Linked DNA regions of Homo sapiens: all the other regions are linked to region 1. The links are contacts of gene promoters, found by promoter capture Hi-C in human tissues and cell types (Jung and others, 2019). All regions are on one chromosome and are shown on one strand. The core of a region is centred on a gene start or on the middle of the fragment in contact, and the rest is flanking DNA. Distances in the headings are between cores, read along the strand shown. Region 1 holds the start of MSC (musculin). Region 2 overlaps NCOA2 (nuclear receptor coactivator 2). Region 3 overlaps TRAM1 (translocation associated membrane protein 1).

Evidence for each region. The method cuts DNA at HindIII sites, captures the fragments that hold promoters and counts their contacts. A contact is called where the count stands out against the background at its distance.
Region 2: a fragment that was not itself captured here is called in contact with the fragment with the promoter of MSC in region 1 in 1 of the 25 tissues and cell types used here (lymphoblastoid cells).
Region 3: a fragment that was not itself captured here is called in contact with the fragment with the promoter of MSC in region 1 in 1 of the 25 tissues and cell types used here (lymphoblastoid cells).

The regions. Positions count from the first base shown.
Region 1 is chr8:71,842,611-71,846,421 of GRCh38, reverse strand. MSC (musculin) reads left to right here and starts at 2,010. Exons shown (of 2, transcript NM_005098.4): 1 at 2,010-2,777; 2 at 3,675-3,811. The coding sequence starts at 2,244. The coding sequence ends at 3,761. MSC-AS1 (MSC antisense RNA 1) reads right to left here and starts at 3,299. Exons shown (of 5, transcript NR_033652.1): 1 at 2,718-3,299; 2 at 2,000-2,193. RefSeq lists silencers at 503-552, 2,392-2,661. The HindIII fragment of the contact is 6,952 bases long and covers 1-3,811 here.
Region 2 is chr8:70,366,240-70,370,050 of GRCh38, reverse strand. All of the region lies in intron 1 of NCOA2 (nuclear receptor coactivator 2), which reads left to right. Among named protein-coding and RNA genes, the nearest start is that of NCOA2, 36 kb to the left of the region's middle. The HindIII fragment of the contact is 7,690 bases long and covers 1-3,811 here.
Region 3 is chr8:70,597,459-70,601,269 of GRCh38, reverse strand. TRAM1 (translocation associated membrane protein 1) reads left to right here. Exons shown (of 11, transcript NM_014294.6): 2 at 1,188-1,251; 3 at 3,015-3,136; 4 at 3,259-3,375. Among named protein-coding and RNA genes, the nearest start is that of TRAM1, 9.1 kb to the left of the region's middle. The HindIII fragment of the contact is 4,816 bases long and covers 1-3,811 here.

The sequences.
Region 1 (3,811 bases), core at 761-3,260:
GCTCTCCTCACCATTAATCTTTTCTAAAGAAAGACTTTGTTCTGCACCTGTATAAACAATTCAGATTTTAAAAACCTATTCGCCTGCCCCTAATGTGTGAGACTATATATTTATACTGATAGCTTCAAGTCATCAATAGTCGTTGCAGAGAGCTAGCCTGGCTCTCCTCGGTCCATCTCTTTGCCCCTCTTTGTCGCTCTCCTCTCCTTCACCTGGCAAGGCGATCCTAGAGTCAAGTTCAAGTTCAAACGCTCCAGGAAAGATTTCTACACTCTGTCAAATATTCCCTGCATTTCCCTACCCTAGAGAGAGCTGAGGGCAAATGATCTTTTTATTCACATTGTCCCAGAACCAGCCCACCCCCTGCCCCCAACCAAAAGACAACTTGTACAGGGAGAAAACCTTTGCAAATGTGGGTGAGCCGGAGGGGTTATGTGAAACATTCCCCCGGCCCCAAAACGCCCCTGCTAAGGGTAGCGTGGCCTGGGAGACTAAGGTGGAATGATGCCTGAGTGATGAAGTCAGCCTCTGCCAGCCACCTGTTGCAGCACTTCAGCCATCGAGCTGGACGCATTTGTTCTGCTGTACGAACTGGCGGGAGCCAGGCTGGCCCAGCTATCTCTGCCAGCTCTGTCCTGGACTGACTCCACATAGGTCCCCTTGCACCTTGCTCAGCTTGGGAGCCTGTGGACTTTCAGGAAAAGAACAAGTGAACACCTAAGCCTGTGTGACGACTCAGTTTCATCATTGTAAAATGGGGTAACCATATGCCAAACTCATACGGGTTTTATTACTCAGTGAGCTGCTCACAAGCCGCGAGTACAGTGACGGGCACACAGCGGGCACTCAGTCTCTGACCACTGGGGCCCGTATCCACAGACGTACTTATCCCCTGACCAGGAACTGCGATGACCTTCGAGTTAGGAAATAATGAGACTGCAAAATTGTTGTGTTTTCTTGTGTGGAAGAGCAGGATGTTTTAGTCTTGTTTGGAATGGAACATGATCATTCAGGGTGCTCCTTTGTCGTTTTTACTTTGAATGGACGATTGTGCTAACTTAGCATTCTGCTTCCAGGAGCTCGCTCTTCAATACACAATCTATTAAATACAATAGCAAGGATTCCCTACATTATAATGCAAAGCTTTAGGGCCGGATCCTCCAACACACGCATTGTGGTATTAAAACAAAATCACATCACGCATGGAACTCTCAAGATAGTGGAAAATACCAGCTACAACATCCAGTGATGTGTGACCCGGAGGCACGGAGCTGACTAGAATACCGACGGGCCAGAATTTCAAAACGCGGATTTTGAATCTTTTTTTCTACTTAGCCTAATAAGTTTGGGTCTTTTACTTAACGTCTATCTAGGCGGCTCAGCTTCAAGTTCTGCAAATTGGAGATAATATCATTAAGTTACAGATGTTATTTGAAAAGGCAACGAACCATTGTAACCATTTTTGTAAACCATGAAGGTATATTATAAGAAAAGGAGGAGGAAAATGAGAGGTAACTTGTGCATTGTTGGATGTTGTTTGCCTGTTCTGCTTTTTCTCTTGTCCAGCAAGGCTTGGGTAGACAATCATACATCATGAATGGTTAACTTGAAAACTGAGTTCTACTGGAAAGACTGGCAGGCAAGCAGAGGTCGGAATCCCGTCGTTTCTAAGTGTCTGGTAATCTTTGCCACTGCTAAGATTACCTGGGGGTAGAAGCACCGTCGGTAGGAACAAGATGTGCCCCTTCACTCCCCGAAAGCTCACTTATCCTGCGCAGACATGTTGAAGGGCCGTCGGGCTTCAGAGCCCAAATCTCGGCTCTGCAGAGACGTCCCCTTCCCCCGCCTCCACCAACCGCTCTTCGGCATGCAGAAAAGCGGTCCCCACCCCTTCCACGCCCCTGCCCCACCTCTTGGCCCCCTTTACAACCCCCTCTTCTTTGCCCGGGGTGGTTTGTTCCAAGGAGTACAGATAGCCTTTTCAAAAGGCGCAGCTTACCGCGGTGCGCGCGGATTCTGGACTTGGGCGCCAACTCGTAGTCCACGCTCCCCGGGGTCAGCAGAGGGGCGCTCACGCTCTCGCCACCCACCTCGCTTTCTCACCCCGCGCTTCCCGGCCTGGGTTTTTAGTCTTCCTTGGAGCGCTCTCTGGCCTCCGCCTCCGCCAGGGAGCGGAAGGCGGAGACAGCGAGACTGGCCAGGGGGGAGGAAAGAGGACGCGTGTGGGCAAGGGGGACAACGGGATGTCCACGGGCTCGGTGAGTGATCCGGAGGAGATGGAGCTTCGGGGGCTGCAGCGGGAGTACCCGGTCCCCGCCTCCAAGAGGCCGCCCCTCCGCGGCGTAGAGCGCAGCTACGCCTCGCCCAGTGACAACTCGTCGGCAGAGGAGGAGGACCCCGACGGCGAGGAGGAGCGCTGCGCTCTGGGCACAGCCGGCAGCGCGGAAGGCTGCAAGAGGAAGCGGCCCCGTGTGGCTGGGGGCGGCGGCGCAGGTGGTAGCGCGGGCGGTGGTGGCAAGAAGCCCCTCCCGGCCAAGGGCTCAGCCGCAGAGTGCAAGCAGTCGCAGCGGAACGCGGCCAACGCCCGTGAGCGTGCCCGGATGCGCGTGCTGAGCAAAGCCTTCTCCAGGCTCAAGACCAGCCTGCCCTGGGTGCCCCCCGACACTAAGCTCTCCAAGCTGGACACGCTCCGGCTGGCTTCCAGTTACATCGCTCACCTGCGGCAGCTGTTGCAGGAGGACCGCTATGAGAACGGCTACGTGCACCCAGTGAACCTGGTAGGGGCGCGGCGCGCAAGGATTCGGGAGAGCAGCCAGGAGATACCCAGGGCGCTCCTGGGCGCCGGGCAGGGTCAGCCCGTTGGGAAGAATTCGAAAGGGGTGGAGGTTCTGGGACTGGGAACGAGAAGGCCAGTTTAGTTTCTCCCAAATCAAGGGAGTGGCCAGCCATTTCCCTGAAGAAGAATCAACCCTCCGTGTCTGTTTGCATCGTTCTGAACATTGTACCCCAGTGACAGCCATTGACTAATATCCTACTTCCAGGGTAAATCTTGGTTCCATCTCCATCTGCCACCAGGTTGCAGACTGACGGCAAATCTCCCTTGCCCAACTTAATCCAGCTGAGTCGGGCAGGTTTGAATCGGCAAGCCCTTTCTTAAAGGAGGGAAGGCCGAGCTCTATAAAAGAGCATTTGCATTTTTAGAAAAATTGCTTGTGGAAGATAGTAACGTTTCCCCAGATGGGATTTATCTGGAAAGTCCCTCTCTGATCTGCCAGCTCTCCCGGCTTGGGAAAAATCCTGTCCAAGCCCAGTTCCTACTTGGAGCTTGGAGTGGATGACTGTGTGTGTGTGTGTGTGTGTGTGTGTGTGTGCGTGTGTGTGTGTGTGTGTTGGGGAAGGGAACTAAACGACAGAACCTCAAAGTCAGATGAGTTTCACCAAATTATCCTGCGGGCAAAGTCCAGGAAGAAGCGTGAACGGATATGGCAAGTCTCGGATTATCAACCTCCAGTAAAATGAAAATCTTAGTTCAGAGAGAGGACATGCAAATTCCCAGAATGCTGATAAAATCTTAGCTACTCCAAGTCAGGAATATCTGGGGTTCGCGTAGGAGAGCTGTTTCGGTTTGAGACAATCGTTTCTCTCTAATATCTCACGTTCTTTTTGATTTACAGACATGGCCATTCGTGGTCTCGGGAAGACCGGACTCTGACACCAAAGAAGTTTCCGCAGCCAACAGACTATGTGGAACCACCGCTTAAATCGGACTGGAACTCACTTGATGGGATTATTCGTTAAATGCGAGTGTTTG
Region 2 (3,811 bases), core at 786-3,285, 1.5 Mb after region 1:
AGCCCTTTGTGGTGGCACACCCCTGTGGTCTCAGCTCCTCTGGAGGCTAAGGTTGGAGGATTGCATGAGCCTAGAAGGTTAAGGCTGCACCACTGCACTCCAGCCTGGGCGACAGAATGAAACCCTGTCTCAAAAAATAAAATACTCAGTTTATAATCCTGAAAAAAAAAAAAGATTAATGAGGCACTATTCTGCCTTTAGTACTTTGTAGCTTCTTGTCTTACTCCTTAGGCAAGCACAGAAGGTATAATGTGCCTGGGACAGAAAAATCTACTATGTGCCCAGAGCTTGACTCAGGTTGTCTTGTGAAAACCTGACAGTATTACTAGGAAGTAGGTAATAGCATCCCCTGTCAGCCCCCCAAAACACATACATTGACTGTTTGGATTGCTTGGTGATATCTCAAATTAATCATTGGCAGAAGTAGGATCTAAATCGAAGGATGATGATAAAGATTGTGTGCCTTCTGCTCTATCTTTAAAGCTGCCTCATGCTGCCAGGGAGCAAGACACAGTGAAACTCATTGTGGATAATTGGGTCCATGCCTCACTAATCAGAAAACTGAGTTGCAATATATTACATTTCTCTGTTCTATTATGATGGGAGTAATTTCATTATAAGTGAGTTTTTATAGCACCATCTAAAAAGAATATACACTTTAAGAAAATCTAAAATCCAAACTTAGAAAGCCAGATTAATCAGGGATATTTATTCACTTTACATTGGTGTCTCTCAATTTTATAAAAGAACCAATTGTACTACAGCCTTCCTTAAATGGACATCTTCCAAATGTTTCGTATGTTTAAACTATTTGAGTTACCAAAATTGAATTTGTGTGGAATTTTTTAGACTACGTCAGTGTGTAAAATGAACTGAGTTTCAAGTGAAGTCTATTCATTTTGATAATGGATAGAAAATCACATAGCATTTAAAATGTTGCTCAAGTTTATTATTTTAGGCATACTGTTAACTCTAAAGAAATGGGTAAATGTATAATGAAGTAGTTAATGGGACAGAAATGGAATTATCCCTTTTTTTTCCTTTTTTTTGAGACTTTACTGTTATTTTTGGAAAACATTTAATAACTCTTAATATTTTAGTAGCCATTATATCAGAGATGCTACTTTTGTTTTTGTAGAATAGATTTACAGAGTACATAAGCAGCCAGACTTTCCCACAGGGAGTGACAGAATAAGTTGTGCAGTTTTGGGAGGGGTTACATTGACCAATAAATGATTTCTGTCAGTACCCAAAGGGCACCCTTACGGCCCAACAGAATTAATGAAACTGTGCAGCAGCATTAATTTCCTTTTGAAAGGCTTAGGACCAATAATACTGTCCTTATTTTCTAAATTAAAGTGAATTTTTATATAAATACAGTTTGTTATGTGACACTTAAGAAATACAGTGAAAGGTTTTAATAAACAGTCTAAACTATACTTAAGCTGTTTTATAAGAAAAATAAAGTGAAGAGTTGGTGAATTTCATTGATATAGATAACGAGTTACTTTGGTCTCAGTAGCAGATTTTGACTTGAAAAACTAAATAATGGCTGTATTTCTCTGCCTCATTTAATTGTGCACCATTTTGCTTTTTTGGTCTTTTATCTATAATCCATCCATTACTCCCCTTTGAGATTAAGTTTTCTAAAACTCTGCTTTCATTCCTCCCTCAACTTTTCCATGTCTTATAAATTGCCTCTTGGTTAAAGTCCCAGCCTAGTGTATTTTACAGCCCCATCTCCAAGTATTTCCCTATGCGGCCTTGCACTTCAGCCAGATGTCTCTAGCCAGCACTTGTGACACTCTCTTTGTCTTTCTTTCTGTCCACGTCCTATATATGCTTTACAGCATAGAAGAATAAGCCACATTTAACTTTCCAGACCAAGCCAGCACACTTGTATGTCAGGTTTTGAAATTGTTGCAGCTTTGAGTATAAAAGCTGTTATACTTTGCATTGTCTTCTAAGATTTCTAAACTCTTAAGTTATTTCTCTCATTTCCTAGTCTTCATTTGGAAATTTACTGAGAGCAGAGGCCTGCATCTTATACTTCTGAGTCTATGTTGAATTCATTCCTACAGTGTCTACTTCTATGTAACAGTATTTTACACATATTGAAACCCTAAAAAAGACACAGAATTAAGTCATAGAATTTTAGGGCTAGAAATAATTTGTAAAAGGTTGTCATTTATAGTTGAGAATACTGAGTCATAGAAATGTTGATTTTGATTAATAGTATCTTGAAATCATGGTATGGCTTGGAGAAGTGTTATCTGTTATTTTTATTTTAGTAGGGTCTTTGTGGTGGTTTTCACTTTGATTCTTTCTGAAGAAATAGCTTTAAAAATCCTTAGCACTTGGATATGTAATTATTTTACTAAGATAATTTTCAAACACTTTGAATAGTTCTACTTAATACACGGAAACTGATGATCAAACATTTAAATTGAAACTGTTTGGACCTGTGAACTGGTTTTTACTAAAAGCTGGAGTACTGTGATTATTGGTCCCTCTGTGCAGTAACTCCAAAATCTATGTTATACTCTCAGCAGTCCTATTTATATATGTTATTGGTGTAACTATTACTCTGTTGGTAGTCTTTTCACTGTATCTGGAAATGCAGTCCACCTCCTGAGGAAAAAAGGAAAAAAATAGTAGTACTTAATACTATTATTCCCACAGAGCTTCAGAAATTGGCACAAAAGTTTTCATGTTAATCTCACAAATGCTGTTATTTTGAATTTATTTAATTTCAAAACAGTATTCAGTGTCTTTTCATGAAATGCAAACTTAAACAAGGTCAGCATTATAGAAGGAAATGAGAACAGTCTTAGGAGTTTGTATTAAAGGAGATAGCTATGGTTGAAAGGAAAATCTGGGCTACTAGTAACTTGTGTTTATTTCTAAAACAATAATTTTTCCTCCCCCAAGGCCTGGTAGGGTGTTTTGAAGGTTGTATGTAAAGTCAGACATGATCGGGTTGCTATTATTGTCCTTTAGGAGAACTGTAGAAGATTTCTGCTGTGCAGTGTCAGGAACAGGTTGCTGTGGATGATGAGAGTATCCTCATTGGCCACTATTATTCTGTATGAATCTTCTGCTTTTATGAACCTTTAGCACATCTAGGGGTAAAAGGCGTGTTTTATTTCAGAGCTACGAGGTCAGAGTTTGGATGATATGCTGCCAAAGTGTGTGAATTGTGGCTACTGGAGTTCTGAGATCCCATCTTTGCCTAAAATCAGAATTCTAGAACAGTAAGCATTCAATAAGCACTCCAAGCTTCCAAGTAACCTTTTTTTTTTTTTTTTAAAGCCAATGGCTGCTTAATTTTATACAATGGTTTTCTTGCTTGTTTTCTGAATGTTGTAGATAAATAACTTATGCCGGCAATGGATATATAATTCTCAATCAGATTCTTAGGGAAAAAGCCAAAGTAGTAAAGAAAACCTTTTATATCAAAAAATATAATTTGTAAATTTGAGGTTTAGATTTAAAAAATAACATTAATATATACATATTAAATATATATATATATGAACTCTTCTCCCCCCGAAAGCCCCTGAGTATTAAATATTTTGGTCTTACCAAGTCGTGACTAAGGCATATTAAAGCCAGTTCACATGGAAACATTTAATAACCTTTATATTACTATTTCCTAGATTTATAATTTGTATTAGATACTGTACAGAGCCTGCTAGAGAAGCTTTGTGAACCTGTGCTCTGTGTATTTCCCCCCTCTTTTAACAGTTGAGAACATACTTTCATCAGTCTGTGTCCTTTTCTCAAATCCACATACTTCACTTTTGGGATG
Region 3 (3,811 bases), core at 952-3,451, 1.2 Mb after region 1:
ACCATAGAGTCCTATGGTCACATTCTCCTAGAAAGATGGGAATCTAGTGAAGGATTTTTAGCAGGTAGGGAGGGGGATGTGGTAACATGATGAGAAAATCATTCTAGTTGCAATATGGAGAATGGATCTGAAGGGGCCTGGGATACCACTTAGCAGGTCACAGAGAGCAATCCTTCTAAAAGGCATAAATGAACTTTCCCGTCCTCAACATTCTCCACTTGTGCGAAAGTGAAATCTAAACTACTTAGCTCAAAAAACAGAGTCCTTTCTAGCACTCAATAATGTTTCTAGTCTTTTCTAACGCTTCCTGATGTGCATCCTGTGCCTGGCCTTGTGTTCACTGCTACTTGATCTTGCCACGCTCTGTTTCTTCTATCTGTACTGTCCTCTTCATCCCCCTTTGTGAACCTAGGGAACACCTATTTTCCAGCAAAACACAGCTCCTTCATTTCATTCCACCCCAGAAAAAAAACCAACAAAGCTCATTGTTTATCCCAAGTACCCACAGTGCAAGCTATTGGCACTTATTCTACAGTATTATAACAGTTTATTTACCTGTACTTTTCACACCACGGAGCTCCTTGTCATTAGGGATTATTTTATCCATCTTCATCTCGTCCTTTTTTGTCTAGCACTTTGCCTGGTGCCTGTAAAGATTGGGTAAGCATTCCATTTTTCTGCTCTGACCAGTTTACTTTTACCAGTAGTCAGGTCAGTTAAACAGTTATTGACCACTTAACTCTGCTGGGTGTGTGGGATACTAACACACCCACACCACAGACCCTATATTTGATCTGCTTTTCTCATGCTAACTGTGCTTCTCTTTATTTTATTAATTTACACTTGAAATTTGTCTTAATAGGAACTTTTTATTCATTGTATAGGGCTAGAGTAGAGAATCATCATTTGTCAAATAACTGTTTTCTGGAACTGCAGAAAATGTCTTTTGAAATCTTAAAATTAAGGATGAATTACACAATTTTACCTAAACCGCAGAAGAGTACTCTAGTGAATTACATTAGCTCCTTGGCAATCAGTAATTTCCATTGTGTCTGTCAGGATTCCACAGGAACGAGGAGGCCCTTGGTGCTTCGATTTAGGGACAGATTTTATAATGTTTTTGCCCCGATCTGTTATTTGGGAGAGGGTCACAAATTGACTTGATCTTTGTTTTTCCTTCTTTGTAGATAACGGCAAAAGCTTCTATCATTTTTGTTACTCTTCAGTACAATGTCACCCTCCCAGCAACAGGTAGGTAATTTACGCTAAGAATTTTCTACGTAAATAGAAGTTCAGTTGAACAAACTTGGAAATTTTCATGAATGCTAGGTCCTGCGTTAATTAATCGTCAGAGATCTCATCCATGATGTGACTGAATGTTATTGTGATGATTTTATAATACAAGATCTGATGTTTTTGATTGACTTTACCCTGTATATGTTTTCTGTTTACTATATATTTTTGTGAATGGACTTGAAATTCCATAAAATAATTTTGTTTTGCTTTCTCTGCTTTCTGATTTTTTCCTAAGAAAATTATAAGAAAAGATCTTTTTAAAATTGTTTAAATGTCATTGTTCATTCAAGACTTCTAAAAGCACAATGGCAGATTTAGTTTTTCTGTAAGTTACATTTTGGACCTGTAATAGCAATCAATCCTTCTAAGATTATTTTCACTTTTTCCTGTGCTCTACTTTTAACAATTATTTTGATTCCAGAAAATGTGTTAGTAAGCTCTAGGAATTATCTGGTAATAGCATCCAAACTATTAGGTTTTATTTCAAAAATCTTATTTCTTAATCTATGTAAAAATTAGGTGTTTCTTGGAAGTTGATTGTAATTTAATACAGTGATATAATTAACTAGCATGGGTGAGGGATGGGGTATTTTTTGGTTGAGGCAGTAAACCTGCACAGTTTTTTATTTAGAATGTAAGATAATATAGTATACCACATTTAGTTGGGGTTTTTTGTTGTTGTTGCTGTTATTTATATGTGTGTTTTTAAGAGATGACAGGGTCTTGCCAAATGTGTTACCTAGGCAGGAGTGCTGTGGCGTGATCGTAGCTCACTGCAGCCTCCAGCTTCTGGGCTCAAATGATCCTCCCAGGTCAGCCTCCCAAGTAGGTGGGACTACAAGGGCACACCACCACGCCCAGCTAATTTTTCAATTTACTATAGAGATGGAGTCTCACTATACTACCTAGGTCAGTCTTGAATTTGGGCCTCAAGCAATCCTTGCCTCCCTAAGTGTTGGGATTACAGGGGTGAGCCACTGCATCTAGCCCCTGAGTTGGGTTTTTGTTCAGTTATGTACAGTTTTGTAAATATTTAATTTAGTGATTTAGTTATCAGGTTACTCAAAACTACAATACTGTTTTGAAATTTGAATATGCCAGAGAAGAATAAAGCTCTTTTATGTATATGTTCCCCATAAACATAAAGTTTGAGAATAAGTGTCAGCAATTCACAAGTATTTGATAAAGATTTGTTTTGAAAAATTATAGCAATTGCAAGGATTAAAAACAACTTTAGTAGTTGCCTTTATCTCTGCTGCTTATAGATCAAAACTAAATCAAATACAGGTCAAATCAGCTTTTTCATCAGAATCATAATTTAGTGTGTAGTTAGAAAGTAGAAGTAGAAAGTTTCAAAAGCCCTTTGAAAAAAATAGGTCAGTAGGCTAAGTATAACTTTATCAACCTAATTTATACCCCTGGGATAATATCAGTTTATTGAGTGTGGCCTCCTCTTCCCTGTTTTTTGGTCTTTGGTGGCTGTGACTAACATGTGTCAAGTCTTTGTAAGTAATTTCTAAAGCTTTAGATTTCTAGATAGTTTTGATTTTCATTGCCCCTCTAAGACTCAAGATGTCCAAGACCACGTTATTTATGATGTTAATATAGAACTTTTTTATTAGGTTATTCTTCTTTGTTTCCATAACTATGTTGTACTTAATGCTGTTTTTATAACCTTGTGTATATTTTTGTGTATTTGTGTCCTTTTTGGTCTTCAGAAGAACAAGCTACTGAATCAGTGTCCCTTTATTACTATGGCATCAAAGATTTGGCTACTGTTTTCTTCTACATGCTAGTGGCGATAATTATTCATGCCGTAATTCAAGAGTATATGTTGGATGTAAGTATGCAGTCTTAGAAATCTATACTTTATAAAGTACTAGCTCTCCATAATCTGCTAGTCATATATTAAATATAATTTATAATTTATTCTTAATTACTAATGGCTGTTTTTATTTTTAGAAAATTAACAGGCGAATGCACTTCTCCAAAACAAAACACAGCAAGTTTAATGAATCTGGTCAGCTTAGTGCGTTCTACCTTTTTGCCTGTGTTTGGGGCACATTCATTCTCATCTCTGTAAGTATGTCCTCTTAGGTTGTTGTTCTCCTTCCTTATCTAAGATTAGAAACTCTGCTAATGAAATAGTATTAAGTTAAGAGTTTCAGTGATAAATCTGTTTTAGGTATTTTTTTATACAGCAAAAATTCTAAACTATGTTTACTGTTTCAGAAAGGCTTATTCATTTTTAGTCACTCTGAATGTTACTTTTATATCTTTCTTTTTTTTTTTTTTTTTTTTTTTTGAGACAGAGTCTCGCTCTGTCTCCAGGCTGGAGTGCAGTGGCATGATCTCGGCTCACTGCAACCTCCGCCTCCCGGGTTCAAGCGATTCTCCTGCCTCAGCTTCCCAAGTAGCTGGGACTACAGACGCACGCCACCACGCCCAGCTAATTTTTGTATTTTTAGTAGAAACAAGGTTTCACCATGTTGGCCAGGATGGTCTCGAACTCCTG